Regions from separate parts of the Homo sapiens genome. Here region 1 is linked to region 2. Evidence: promoter capture Hi-C in 16 types of primary human blood cells and fetal thymus (Javierre and others, 2016). All regions are on one chromosome and are shown on one strand. Each heading gives the region's core, a stretch centred on a gene start or on the middle of the fragment in contact. The rest is flanking DNA. Distances are from core to core; before and after follow the strand shown.

Region 1 (6,368 bases), core at 3,505-6,004, 350 kb before region 2:
TGCACTCCAGCCTGAGTGACAGAGTGAGACTCCATCTCAAAAAAAAAAAAAAAAAAGATAACTGTCTCATAGTTATGACACAGATGCTGGTTTTTAAAGTTTCAAATATAGAGATTTTACCAAGCCCATGGGAGAGAAAGATCAACTTCACAAACAGGGCTATGGGGCAGGTTTTCCGCAGGCATCTGAACCAGGTTGGCCGAGTCCCTCTGCTCCTTGGCCTCAGCTCTGTGTCCCTGATCCTGCTGGTATGAGCCCACCGGTGGAGAAGGGAGACGAGGGAGGAGGAAGTCCCGGGGTGATCTGCTTCCCCCATTCCCCCCAGACTGTTTCTTACCTGGAGACCTGAGGGACCAAGGAACTGAGGCTGGAGCTGCCCAGAGAAATCTGAAGATTTGGGGTTGGTGGGTGGAGAAGAGGGTGTGGGGTGCTGCTTGGGCCAGGAGGATGGAAGCCTTTTGGAAGAGCCTTTCTTCCCGGCGATGGCCCCCTCCCAACCTCTACCCCACTGACACTCTCTACACAAACCTCTGAAGGAGAGAGGCAGCCCCCAAACAGATCTTCTTGAAGATACCCCAATTCAGGGTCACCCTTCAAGAAAACACACCCCTAAGAAAGCTAACTCCTATCCCTGCTCTGCTTGGAAGCCTGCTGTGGGTGACATGAACACAAGCCAGCCTAGAGCAGGTAGGACATCGGGATCCCCTGAACTGTGTGTGCTGCACACACAGCTCACAGACGTCCTTCACAGCTGGCACTTCCATCCCTGCTCATCACTATCCTGTGGGTTAGCAAAGCAACTGTTTTTATTCCCATTTTACAGACCAGGAAACTGGGTCCCAGGAGGGAAGGGGCCTGCTGAGGTCACACGGCCTATCCTTCATGCTAGAGTACATGGAGAACAGGACTTGCTGTCTCCCAGGGCGGCCCCTGATGAGCCGAGAGCCCAGAAGGGTGTTTGGCTGACTCGAGTGCTCAGCTCAGCTGCCTGGTGAGATGTGCCAAGTCGCAGTACTTTAGAAGGGTGGGAGGCAGCCCGTGCCTGGAAACAGCACCCTGGCTGCCCCCACCCAGGCCCTGACCTGCTGGATGGGGCTCAGACTCAGGAAGAGCTGCTGGAAACCTGGGTTCCCCCTTGGCTAGGAACAGAAGGGTTAGGAAGCGCTTGGGGAGGAAGCTGCCCTCAGTGCTTACCTGTGGGAGTCTGTGGTTTCCCTCTGTTTCCTTGTCCCTCTGGGTTTTTGTGTTACTTTGTTTTTGGTTTTCTTTTTGCTTTTTTCCAGGGCTGACAAGAAAAGGGGAGACAGGGGTATAAATTTCTGAGCTGGAAATCTGGAAGGGGAACTGAGCTGGACTCTGATATGTATCACATTAATCCTGTGTAACATTTCTCATAGGCCTGCCCTTGCTGTGTCTTTGAAAATTGTCATGGCTCGCCAAGGTGGGTGGATCACCTGAGGTCAGGAGTTCAAGACCAGCCTGGCCAACATGGTGAAACCCCATCTCTACTAAAAATACAAAAATTAGCCAGGCACGGTGGCGTGTGCCTGTAATCCCAGCTACTCAGGAGGCTGAGGCAGGAGAATCACTTGAACCTGGGAGGTGGAGGTTGCAGTGAGCGAAGATCGCGTCACTGCACTCCAGCCTAGGCGACAGTGAGACTCTGTCTCGAGAAAAAGAAAAAAAGTTGTCATGGTTTGAACCCATACTTGGTGGCCCCATCTCTGTCTCTGACTGTCTATCTGCCTCTGCCTCCCTCTGTCTCTGCCTGTTTCCTGTGTCTGTCTTTGTCTCTATGTGTGTGTGTACAAATACATATAGGTATATATATTCTGTCTTTCTCTGTTGCTGTCTCTCCCCCGACCAATCTGATCTGAAGGATCACAGAGCTGGATGGGACAAGGGTCACCATCTCATCCATTCACAGCCTTTGACCAAGATGGTCTGTGAACCATTGGATGTGGGTTAGGTTTTGAAACAAACTTCCCCTTCCCGCCCCACTTGGGCATCAGTTCATGCTCAGCTTGGGTTTAACAGTCTCCAGATTTCCTCTTTGAGCCAAATTCTCACCCTTCCTGCTGCTGTTTGGACACTTGCTTTGGTGTCCTACAGGGAATAATGATAAGGCAGAGGTCACAGTCCTGGCCCCCACCCAGCCTTGCCTGCTGCGCAGTGAAACTGGTGTTTGCCGGGGCCGGTCTTGGCCAGGAGAGAGGAGGAGGGGTGGAGGCAGCTGGGGAGTGTGAGCAAGATGCCGCGGGGGCTCGGGGGAGACTGCAGCCAAGTGCTGCGTCTGAGGATATTTATAGACAGACACACAGAGAGACATGCACGCAGGGACAGAGTACTGTTTGTTTCCTGGAAACATGGACTGTTCTCTCAGTCCTACCAGATTTCCCAGGGAGCATCATACTGAAATAGGGAAAACTGTGTCTGCTGCCTGGTGTCCGCCCTCCACATAAGGAGAGATCTGATTCGCTCCACACCCCCTTGGTAACTGCAACGACTGCCCCTAGCCTGGGGAAGCCCTTTCCAGGCGTTCCTGACTGCCCCGCTCACTTCTCTGTCTCATCTCGCCTCCCAGGCCTCCTTGCGCTACTCCCACAGCAAAACACTGCACCAGTGCTTGCCCTTCTTGGGGGCTTCCTGGCCTTTGCACACACAGCTCCGTCTGCCAGGAATGCTTTTCCATCCATTCCTATTCTTCTGGCAAAGCCCTACTCATCATCTGCCCACACGTCACCTCCTCTGAGGGGTCTTTTCTCACCTCTCCTCTGAGAGCTTAGGACTTTGCATGGTTATGTCGCTGTTGTTATTTCTATTTACCTCTGTCTCCGCCTCCAAACCATAAATTCCTCAAAGTCAAGGACTTTCTCTTACTCATCTGTGCGTCCTCAACATGTAGACCAGTGCCTGAAGCAGAGCTGATGAGCAATGGAGAATTGTTGAATGAATGGATGAGATTTGTACAGTATAGCTGCTAAGAGTTCAAGGTCTGTGTTCAGTGGAAGATTTGGTTTAAATACCAGCTCTATGTGAACTTAACCTGGAATTAGAAAACAAAACAAAACAAAAAACAAAAATAAATAAATAAATGCCAGAGCTCTGCCTCTTGCTAGCTATGTGATTTTTCCAGTCACCTGGCCTCTCTAAGCGATTCCACGTCTATAAAGTGGCCTATAACAATAGAACCTTGCAAAGGCCGGGCACAGTGGCTCACGCCTGGAATCCCAGCACTTCGGGAGGCCAAGGCCGGCAGATCATGAGGTCAGGAGATCGAGACCATCCTGGCTAACACGGTGAATCCCCGTCTCTACTAAAAATACAAAAAATTAGCCGGTCGTGGTGGCGGCACCTGTAGTCCCAGCTACTCGGGAGGTTGAGGCAGAAGAATGGCGTGAACCTGGGAGGCGGAGGTTGCAGTAAGCCGAGATTGTGTCACTGTACTCCAGCCTGGGCAACAGAGCAGAGCGAGACTCCGTCTCAAAAAAAAAAAAAAAAAAAAAATAGAACCTTGCTTACGTGATTAACGTAAAATTTTAACGACATTACATATTCCCATGGTGCCTGGCACACATGGGTTTTTCTCACAACCCACATTTTGTCAGCAAACCCTGTAGATTCCTCTTTTAAAATGTCCAGTCTCTTCTTACCTTCCAACTGCCAACAACCCAATCCAAACCACCACCATTTCTCACTGACACCCAGCCCTCACTTATTTCCAGCACAGCTTTCAGAAGCAGTCTCTTAAAAATATGTCACATCATCTGACTCCTCTGCCAAAATTCTCCTTGGCCTCTCCTTCTCACTAGAGGAAAAGCCCAGGTCCTCATCATTCTCATCATGGCCTACGAGGCCCTTTAGGATGGTGTCGCCCACCACCACTGACTCCACCTCTTCACTTTCTCCCCTGCTCTCCTGGCTCCAGCTGCACGCCACTCTGCCCAGTGCCCTTCTACGTGCCATTTCCTCAGCTTGGAATTCTATTCCTTCAGAATCCTCATGCCTCCCTCAAAGGCTGCCTTCTCCATGAGGCCCTCCCTGGCTGTCCAATTTAAACTTTCAATGATATGCTCGCTGTTGGCACATTCTTTTTTTTTTTTTTTTTTTTTTTGAGATGGCGTCTTGCTCCTGTTGCCCAGGCTGGAGTGCAGTGGTGGGAACTCAGCTCACTGCAGCCTCCACCTCCCAGGTTCAACGATTCCCCTGAGTTGAGTAGTCCCTGAGTAGCTTGGACTACAGGCATGTGCCATCATGCCCAGGTAATTTTTGTATTTTTAGTAGAGACGGGGTTTCATCATGTTGGTCAGTCTTGTCTTGAACACCTGACCTCAAGCAATCCACCTGCCTTGGCCTTCCAAAGTGCTTCTTACAGGCATGAGCCATTGCGCCTGGCCTCACTATTGGTACCTTCTATCCCACTTTGCTGCTGGATTATTTCACGTTAGCCTTTATGATAGTATTTATCATTAGTAAATATCATTAATATTTATCAATAGTAAATATCATTACTATTTTAGGTATTTCCTTATTTACCGTCTGTCTTCCCTGGTAGAATATAAGCTTCAAGGGAGCAGGGATTTTTGCCTTTTGTGTTTGTTGCTGTATCCCTAGCATGTAGAACAGTCTGGCATGAATGAGTACTCAGTAAATACTTTGTTGAATAAGTAGATCAGATCTGGGAAGTTTTGCTAGAGTACATTTCCCTCTGTTTACAAGAACTTGGTGCCCCGAGACTGTGAAGATGAGAGCTTATACTGATGTAAAATACGAAAATGTAGCATCCCAGAGATCTGGGTGGGGCTCGGCCACTCCTCCTTGCCCCTGGGCAGCCAGAACTGACTCAGGAGGCAGAACCCCAAAGCATGCTTCTGCCTCAGACTGGATTTTCCCCTCCTTCCAGCCCAGCCCAGCTGCCTCCAGTAGAGGGCTTGGCTGGGAACTTCAAGCTTGTCCTTTTCTCTGGAGAGGATGGGCATTGGGCCTCCACCCTTGGAAGAAGGAGTGGCAGGTGAAGATGACCCACAGCTAAATGGCTGCTAGCTGCCTTTTGTCCAGTTTTCTTGGGATTCCCACAGGGCCTTCCTAGGGAAAAAAATCAATGCCATCCTCCTTGGCCTTGGTTTTCCAAGAAAGCAATGCTCTTCGCTGGGCATGGTAGCTCACGCCTGTAATCCCAGCATGTTGGGAGGCTAAGGCAGGAGAGAATCACTTGAGCCCAGGAGTTCGAGACTAGACAGGGAATCATAGGGAGATCCCGTCTCTACACATAATAAAATAAAATAAAATAAAAAATTAGTGGGGCATGGGGTGGCACGTTCCTGTAGTCCTCACTACTCAGGAAGCATCCGTCTTGTTTCTCCAGATAAACTGAACATTTGCTGACAGCACAGACCCTGTCTTATTCACCTTCATTTGCCAGTACTTTAGAGCATGGTAGCTGCTCATTAAGTTTTTGTGAAATAATTATGAAATTATTCCTATTTCATAATTAATAGTGAAATAAATATTTCACTAGGAGTGAAATAATTATGAAATCACCGTTACCGCCCCCACCCCCAACCTGCCAAAGTCTTCCTAGAAAAGCATCCTGCTGTTTTTCACTGTAACTCCCATCAGGCAGAAAGCCCCAGAACTCGGGGCAGGGAAATGTTCACCCAACCCAATGAGGCCTTCCTGGACCCTCCTTGCCCCTCTCCCACTCCCAGTTCTCTAGCCCCATGTCTAGGAACCTCTCTGGGTCCTCTGGCACTGGTGGTGGGTCCTCTGTCCTGCTCCCAATCCCCTCCCTCTGTCCTAAGAACACTCTTTCCAGGCTCCTAGCTGTGAGTGACACATCAGATACCGCAGCACAGGGTGCTCCTGGATGGAGACAAGGTAGGAGGGTGAGGGATGGTGACAGGATATAAGAAATTCAGAGAGCAGGAGAAATTGGAGAAGGCAGCAAGCCCACTGCCCTCCCTCCCAGCTTGGAGGCTAGATCTTTAGACAAGGTCTGTAAATAACATCAGAGTGGCCTCTGGTTCTGTGTTTGAACTGTGACGTTCTACTCCCCAAATAGAACTCGACTATCTGATCCAGGCATTCCCTGGGCCTGGGGGAGCAGCGAGAACCTGTCTCTCCCTCTCAGGGTACTCTAGAGCCAGGACCCAGGACCCTGCCCCCATGACCCAGCTCACATATCTACGAATCCGTGAGGTTGTACTGAAGGTATGGTTTGTGTGACCTTTGCAACACACTCATGTCTCTGGAGCACCCGAGGTTAGAGTTTTCAACAGTTCATAAGAGAGACAAGTAGTGCTGTGTTTTCTCCCTGAAAATAAGCAGAGATTCTGATGCCCAGGGGGAACACCAGAGTGGGCTCAAAG
Region 2 (6,856 bases), core at 4,035-6,534:
TGAAACAGTAGACATTCAATAAATGTATGCTAAATTGAATAGTAGGTGTTCAGAGATACTTAACTGAATGAATAAAATGCACAGAAATGACTGAATCTAAATGGTAGCTAGTAGCTCAAAGACTTTCTATATTACTTTCTACACTACATTTCTACATTACTTAGTACAAGTGACCAAAAAACCTAGTTTCATCTAGCGTAGGCATGCACAATGAGTCATGTAACTCATTTGTAGGAAAGGCAGGGGTACAGTGGGATATGAGGTACAACGAACTCCAGTGCTGCTGGCACTCACTCCTTAGCTTTCTCGTCTGCCTCTCTTGCATGCGAGCTGTATTCTTTTTTATTGCAGGCTTCTTCCATGGGGCAGGGAACTTGACCCCTGATACTTCCAGAGTATAAGATACTTGACCTCTGATACTTCCAGAGTATCTCTTCACAGTAGTCACAGCAGGGACCAAGCCTTGTTTTCTGTTTAATCGTAAGTGCAAAACTCTCAGGAAAGGATGTAATTGGCTCAGCTTGGGTCAGGTGGGGTTAGGACTGCTAATAAAATGTCAGTTTCAATTGTTGTTTTTTGTTTTGTTTTGTTTTGTTTTGAGATGGAGTCTCACTCTGTCACCCAAGCTGGAGTACAGTGGCACGATCTCAGCTCACTGCAACCTCAGCCTCTGGGGTTCAAGTGATTCTCGGGCCTCAGCCTCCTGAGTACCTGGAATTACAGGCATGCCCAGTGATTTTTTTTTGTATTTTTATTTATGTATTTATTTACTGATACAGAGTCTCACTCTGTCACCCAGGCTGGAGTACAGTGGTGCAATCTCAGCTCACTGCAACCTCCATCACCTGGTTTCAAGCGATTCTCCTGCCTCAGTCTCCCGAGTAGCTGGGACTACAGGCGCGCACCACCGTGCCAGCTAAGTTTTGTATTTTTGGTAGAGACGGGGTTTCACCATGTTGCCCAGGCTGGTCTTGAACTCCTGACCTCAAGTGATCCAACCACCTCGGCCTCTCAAAGTGCTGGGATTACAGGCATGAGCCACCATGCCTGGCCCAGTTTCCATCTTAACAGTGAGAAGAAAGGACGTCCCAAAGAACTGGGTTCGGGCATGGGGAAAATGGCTGCTGTTCTAGCCAAGGCAAAATGGTAGATATTCACAACAGGGAGTCATGCAGTCTGCATTCGGGGGAGGTACAGGAAATGGTGAGGAAGATTTGGAAAACTCAAGGTGGAGTCATCAAGAGGCAGAGGAACACATTCTGTTAAACACCTAAGTGAGAGACAGTGCTGACTGCATTTTCCTCAAGTGAGAGATGGGGTAGGGACAGGGTCCACAGTGATGTAAGCCCTGTAGAGACTGACCTGCTATGGGGAGTTCAGGAGGCTGAGGAGAGCCAGGCTAGATCTAAAGAACAGGAACCTGTAAAGTCAAGAGTACAGCAGGGAGAAGAGGGAAACAGGACTGCTCAGAGCTGAGCAGAACAGGCAGACTATGAACTTCTGATGCCAGAGGCAGTGTCCTCCTTCTTGCCCCAGGGGGGCCAACTCCATTTTCCCACATCTAGTGGTTATTTTTATGGATAGATTTATTTTTACCCGTTCTAGACCTCAAACCTGCCGCTGCAAGAAGCGAAGCACTGAGGCTTCTAGCTTTCCAGAAAACACAGGCCTCAGTGGTCAGCTCAGTGACAGAGATCAGGCTATGGTCCCCTCGGCTCCTCTGGGGTCACATTGACCCACCCCCCGACATCCCTCCCTCCTGTCTGCAGCAGAGCTGGGGTGGGAATGGAGTGGGAGGGGGATTCCTTTTTTCTCATCCCACAACCCCACAGCCGGTCAAGGGGAGGATCTACAGCCACCCTGGAAGTCATAAACCTGGCCTGCCCCTGAATCCTAGCCAGCCAGATGTGGGACAGCCATCAGAGCCTCTTTTGACAGCACCTCCCTGGCAGAGCCTGTCTCCCTGGAATCCAGGGAGCTTGAGGGGAAGATCTTACCTTTCCAATAATAACCAGCTATGAAAGGGTATCATTTCCCAGTCCCCACAAAACAGGCAGCCAAAGCAGACTTCTTCTTTATTGGGACCATACATCTGGCCTAAATTGTCATTCCCCCAAGACAAGTTTACTGAACAGTTAGGCAATGCCTCCACACACAGCCACTGCAGACGAGCTTAAAATATACTTTAATACATTTAAACAGTCATTTCAGAGACTGGCTTTCTTATGATAAAGATGCAACTGACACTCATTGGTGCTAAAATGTCATGTTGTTGCCATCCAGCAGGGAGCCTGACAAGCCATTAAATCTGCAGCTCTGTTAAGCTGATTCATTTCTTTTCCTTTCTTTCTCATGTCTTCCCCAACAATTGATTTGGGCTCCTGAAGCTGATATTTTGCTAGGGTCTACCAAAATCTAACAAGGGTGCTGTGCATTGTAGGGTGTGCCCGTAGTCCCAGTTTCTAGGAAGGCTGAGGCGAGAGGATCACTTGAGGTCAGGAGTTTAAAAGCAACTTGGGCAACACAGGGAGACCCATAATGAAAAAAAAGAAGGAAGGAAGAAGGAAGGAAGGAAGGAAAGGGAGGAGGGAAGGGAGGGAGGAAGGAAGAGAGGAAGGAAGGACGGAAAAAAGGAAGAGAAAAAGAAAGAAAGAGAAAGAAAGAGAGAAAGAAAGAAAGAAAGAAGGAAGGAAGGAAGGAAGGAAGGAAAGAAAGAAAGAAAGAAAGAAAGAAAGAAAGAAAGAAAGAAAGAAAGAAAGAAAGAAAGAAAGAGGGAGGGAGGAAGGAAGGAAGGTAGAGGGAGGGAAGGAAGGAAGGGAGATGGAAGGAAGGAAGGGGAAAGAAAGGGAGAAAGGAAGGGAAGGGAAGGGAAGGGGAGGGAAAAGGAGGGAAGGGGAGGGAAAAAGGAGGGAAGGGAAGAGGGAGGGAAGGGAAGAGGGAGGGAATGGAAGAGGGAGGGAAGAGGGAGGGAGGAAGGAAGGAATCTAACAAGGTACTAACTGTTCTTGAAATGCCCTGGGAAGGTGGGAGTGACTAGAGGAGTTGCAAGAGGCTGAAATGAGAACAAAGGTCACCTTTAGTGTCCTGTAAGTGCCTTGAGTGTCAGACAGTCAATCACTAGACAAAAAAGACCAAACAATCCATAGTTCCCATAGAGGGTGACCCTAAAATCTCCCCTTACCCCTGCAACTTTCTTCGGCTGCTGGCAGGGAGAGGCACAAGCACAGGCAGGGGCTTATTTTTTTTCTCTTGTTTTTAATTTTTTTGTAGAGATGGGGTGGGTCTTGCTATGTTGCCCAGGCTGGTCTTGAAATCTGGCCCCAAGTGATCCTCCCTCCTCAGCCTCCCAAAGTACTGGAATTACACGGATGAGCCACTGTGCCTAGCCAGGGCTTATTTTGGATTTTGTTTTCAGATGACAGCAGGCAATCTCCAGCCTCACATTGATGAACTCTGAGTTCTGAGCCCAGCCCAACCAGTCTAAAAACATTACTGGCCGGGTGCGGGGGCTCACGCCTGTAATCCCAGCACTTTGGGAGGCCGAGGCGGGCAGATCATGAGGTCAGGAGATCGAGACCATTCTGGCTAACATGGTGAAACCCCGTCTCTACTAAAAATACAAAAACAAAATTAGCCGGGCGTGGTGGCAGGGGCCTGTAGTCCCAGCTACTCGGGAGGCTGAGGCAGGAGAATGGCGTGAACCCCGGAGGCGGAGCTTGCAGTGAGCCGAGATCACGCCACTGCACTCCAGCCTGGGCAACAGAGCAAGACTCCGTCTCAAAAAAAAAAAAAAAAACCATAAAGAAAAAAGAAATAGCAGGGTAAGAAAATGAAGAGGAAAAAGAGGACCCAAATGAGAGAACATTGGGAAGGGTGCTAGTTGGACACGGGGGAAACTGGACCCCGTTTCACAACCCTGTTTCTCCATGCACATGTGGCTCTGCTTCTTGGGGGCAGAGATGACAGCAAAGAAGGACAGGGGGTGGTGTGAGCTGTTGGGTTAGAATGATAGGATCAAAGAGGCCTTTTCCCAACCCTCTGTTTAAAAGGTTGGGAAGTAGTGGCCAGTCACCTTCTTCACAGCATAGCTCATAGCTATAACCTGTGAGACATATGTCAATGTGCCTTCCATAAGCATATAAACATGAGTGTGTTTGCTGAGGTAGGTGTGGGAATCTGTCAGTCAATGAAGATATGTTGTGTGAACCAGCTGATGGTGCATGTTTGTGCTTGAAAGCCATAAAGTTCTATGCAAAATCTATGGGTGGCACTGTTGCACAATGCTAGTGGGTGTGTGGGTATGGGGGTGTGATTAACTGTTTACAGGCTGTGTATAAGTGTGCATGGATGTCTGAGTGTGTGCAAATTAAAACGGAAATATGTGCCGGAGTATGATACAAAGTACAGGAAAGTACTCGGGCTTTGGAGTCTGTCTGACTTGGTCTTGAATCGTTGGCTCTGTCATTAGCCGGATGTATAACCTTGGGCCAGACACTCAATCTTCAATTCCCTCAACTAGGAAATGAGGTTAATAATAAGTACCTTTCAAGATTAAATGAGGACTAGAAACGATACCATATAGACAAAGCTTTTGGTGTCATAGCCCACGCATAGCAGGACTCAAAAGTAAGCAGCTATTTTCATGCACTGTCAGTATACCTCTGGTGGGTACAGGGACAAGAGGGAACAAAATGTGACCTGTATATAAGGTGTAGGGGAGGACGGGTGTGTGTGTGTGTGTGTGTGTGTGTGTGTGTGTGTGTGTGTGTGTGTTTACAAAACAATTTATTCTCCTTCTCCAAGGAACCCCCTATTCAGACAGGAGCAGGAAGGTAGGAGGGGACATACAAGTGTCCACAGACACCTCGGGTTTCTGGGTCCTGGATCTAAGTGAGTAAGGGGTTGAGAGGCCCGTAGGAGCTGCAGGAAGCCAGCCGCCTGCCCAAGCTTCCTTTTTTTTCCCCTCCGCCCAGCAACCGTTGAATACCGCCACCCACATCCACTCCCCACCTCCACCCTCACCCCTCCTCCACCCCTACTCAGCTTTCTATTCAACAAGTGAGAGCAAGGGCGGGGAAGAAAGCCGACAGGGGAGAGGATTGCTTCCCTTTCTTTTCCCATTCCCCCTTAAGACGAACCAGGAAGTAACCGCAAGAATCGGGCCACCTTAACAGTAGAGTAATGGTTTGGCCTCGCGCCAAGTCCCACCTCTGTTCCAGCTCCTGCTCCTCCCCTCTCTCTTCCCGCACTGCTTGGGGAGAGCTGGTGAGCAAGAGTCTGGCCCGAGTTAGCTAGAGCTGTTGCCATGACAAGCATTTTCTTAAGAAAGCTCTGCTGTTGAGATCGTCCAAAGCTGGGGGCTGGGAGGGGGGGCACGAACTTCGTGGGGCACCATCCCTCCGAAGAGAGCAAGATCAGAGACACCCGCCCAGCTCTCCTGCACCCTTTTTCTTTCAGGAACCTGAGAGGTCCTTCCCATTGGAGGGGCAGGGGGAGGAGACCCAGCCCACTCCCCGGCCTTAGCCAGAAAGGCAAGAGAGCAAAGCCAGCGTCTCTAGCTTGGTTGCCACACTGGGGAGACTGGTGGGTGGTCACCCCACCCTACCCTCATCCATGGAAACCCGGAGGGAGAGTCCCGCCTGAAGAAACCTGGATCTTTGCTAGAAAGAGAGGTAGGCTTGCAGAGAATGAATTGACTTGTGATTTGCAAACTTTGTTTCTTTCTTTTCTCTCAATGGCTTCTAAAACTCCCCGATTTTCCTCTTTCTAGAATATTTCATGCGACTGGGTTTGGAGGATTTTTTTTAAAATATGTGTGTGTGCACAGATTTGTCAAATACTGTTTTACCTATTATCAGTTCTGAGAAACCATATAGTCGAACAAGTGATTTATCTCTCTTTTCCTAGTTCTTGTCATTCCTGGGCTATGGGGTAGGGTAATGGAGGGTTCTCTTTTTGACACCAAAATTGAGCTCTTGGAAAAAATATTTATCTCCCCTCCCTCAACCCATTCCGTTCCTGCCCTCCCCTTCCCCCCTTGGCTTGGGAATGAGACGCAGGATGGAAAACTGTTGCAAAAATATTTTCCGTGTCTGTTCCCTTTCTCGAAAGCCCAAAAGAGAGATGGAAAAAAAAAAAAAAAAGGAACCAAAGAAATCTTCAGCAGAAAGAGGGGCTGCAGCGGGAACTAGGAGAGGGGCACTTTGGGGCCATGGGGTGGAGGTGGGCTGGGAGAAGTTGGCAGGAGTGGGGAAGGAGAGTGCACGAATTAAATTTCTTTAGCTTTGCAGAGAAACCTCAGCAGTTTCTCTGTGCTGCTTGCAAAACATCCTCAGACTTTCACATGTATAATTAGCTGTGGAAAAAGCTGGGAGTTACCTCGTACCGCTGTTGTTTGAGTGTGTGTGAGCGTCCAGAACCAACTGTATGAGTGTCTCCGAGGGCACCGCCCCACACATCTCTGGTCCCAAAGGGGAGGAAGGAGAAGGGTGAATTGAAAAGTTTCCGATGTCGAGGCTGGACACTGTGGGGCTGGTGAGTGTTTGGCAGATGGGGTGGGCCACAGGCATCTGTGGAAGGATCCCTGAGCGTCTCGGGCCACTGCCTTGGCTTGCTGAAGAGCTAGGAATTAAGACTGGGATTGTCCTTCCTGCTCTCCCTTCTCTCTTTCTTTTACATACTTGGCTCGCTCTTGGTAGAGGGGGCTGCTGGCATCCTTCCCCGAGTCGAGTCTGGCCTCTTACACTCCTCCACCTCCCTGAGGGTACCCGCCGCTCTTCTCCAACTGGGTGTGGAGGGTGCAGGAGTGGCCAGCCGCATCTTGGGAGGGGAGTGGGCACTCTGCTGCCAGAGGCAC

The links. Contacts are between HindIII fragments. The CHiCAGO score rates a contact against its expected background, and 5 or more counts as called.
Region 1: a contact is called between a fragment that was not itself captured here and the fragment with the promoter of ATP2B4 in region 2, in 2 of 17 cell types (total CD8 T cells and activated CD4 T cells). The highest score is 5.3, in total CD8 T cells.

The regions. Positions count from the first base shown.
Region 1 is chr1:203,276,347-203,282,714 of GRCh38, forward strand. No RefSeq gene overlaps it. Among named protein-coding and RNA genes, the nearest start is that of LINC01353, 7.6 kb to the right of the region's middle. The HindIII fragment of the contact is 386 bases long and covers 4,562-4,947 here.
Region 2 is chr1:203,621,548-203,628,403 of GRCh38, forward strand. ATP2B4 (ATPase plasma membrane Ca2+ transporting 4) reads left to right here and starts at 5,285. Exons shown (of 21, transcript NM_001684.5): 1 at 5,285-5,672. RefSeq lists enhancers at 4,279-5,153, 5,154-6,026. The HindIII fragment of the contact is 13,651 bases long and covers 4,946-6,856 here.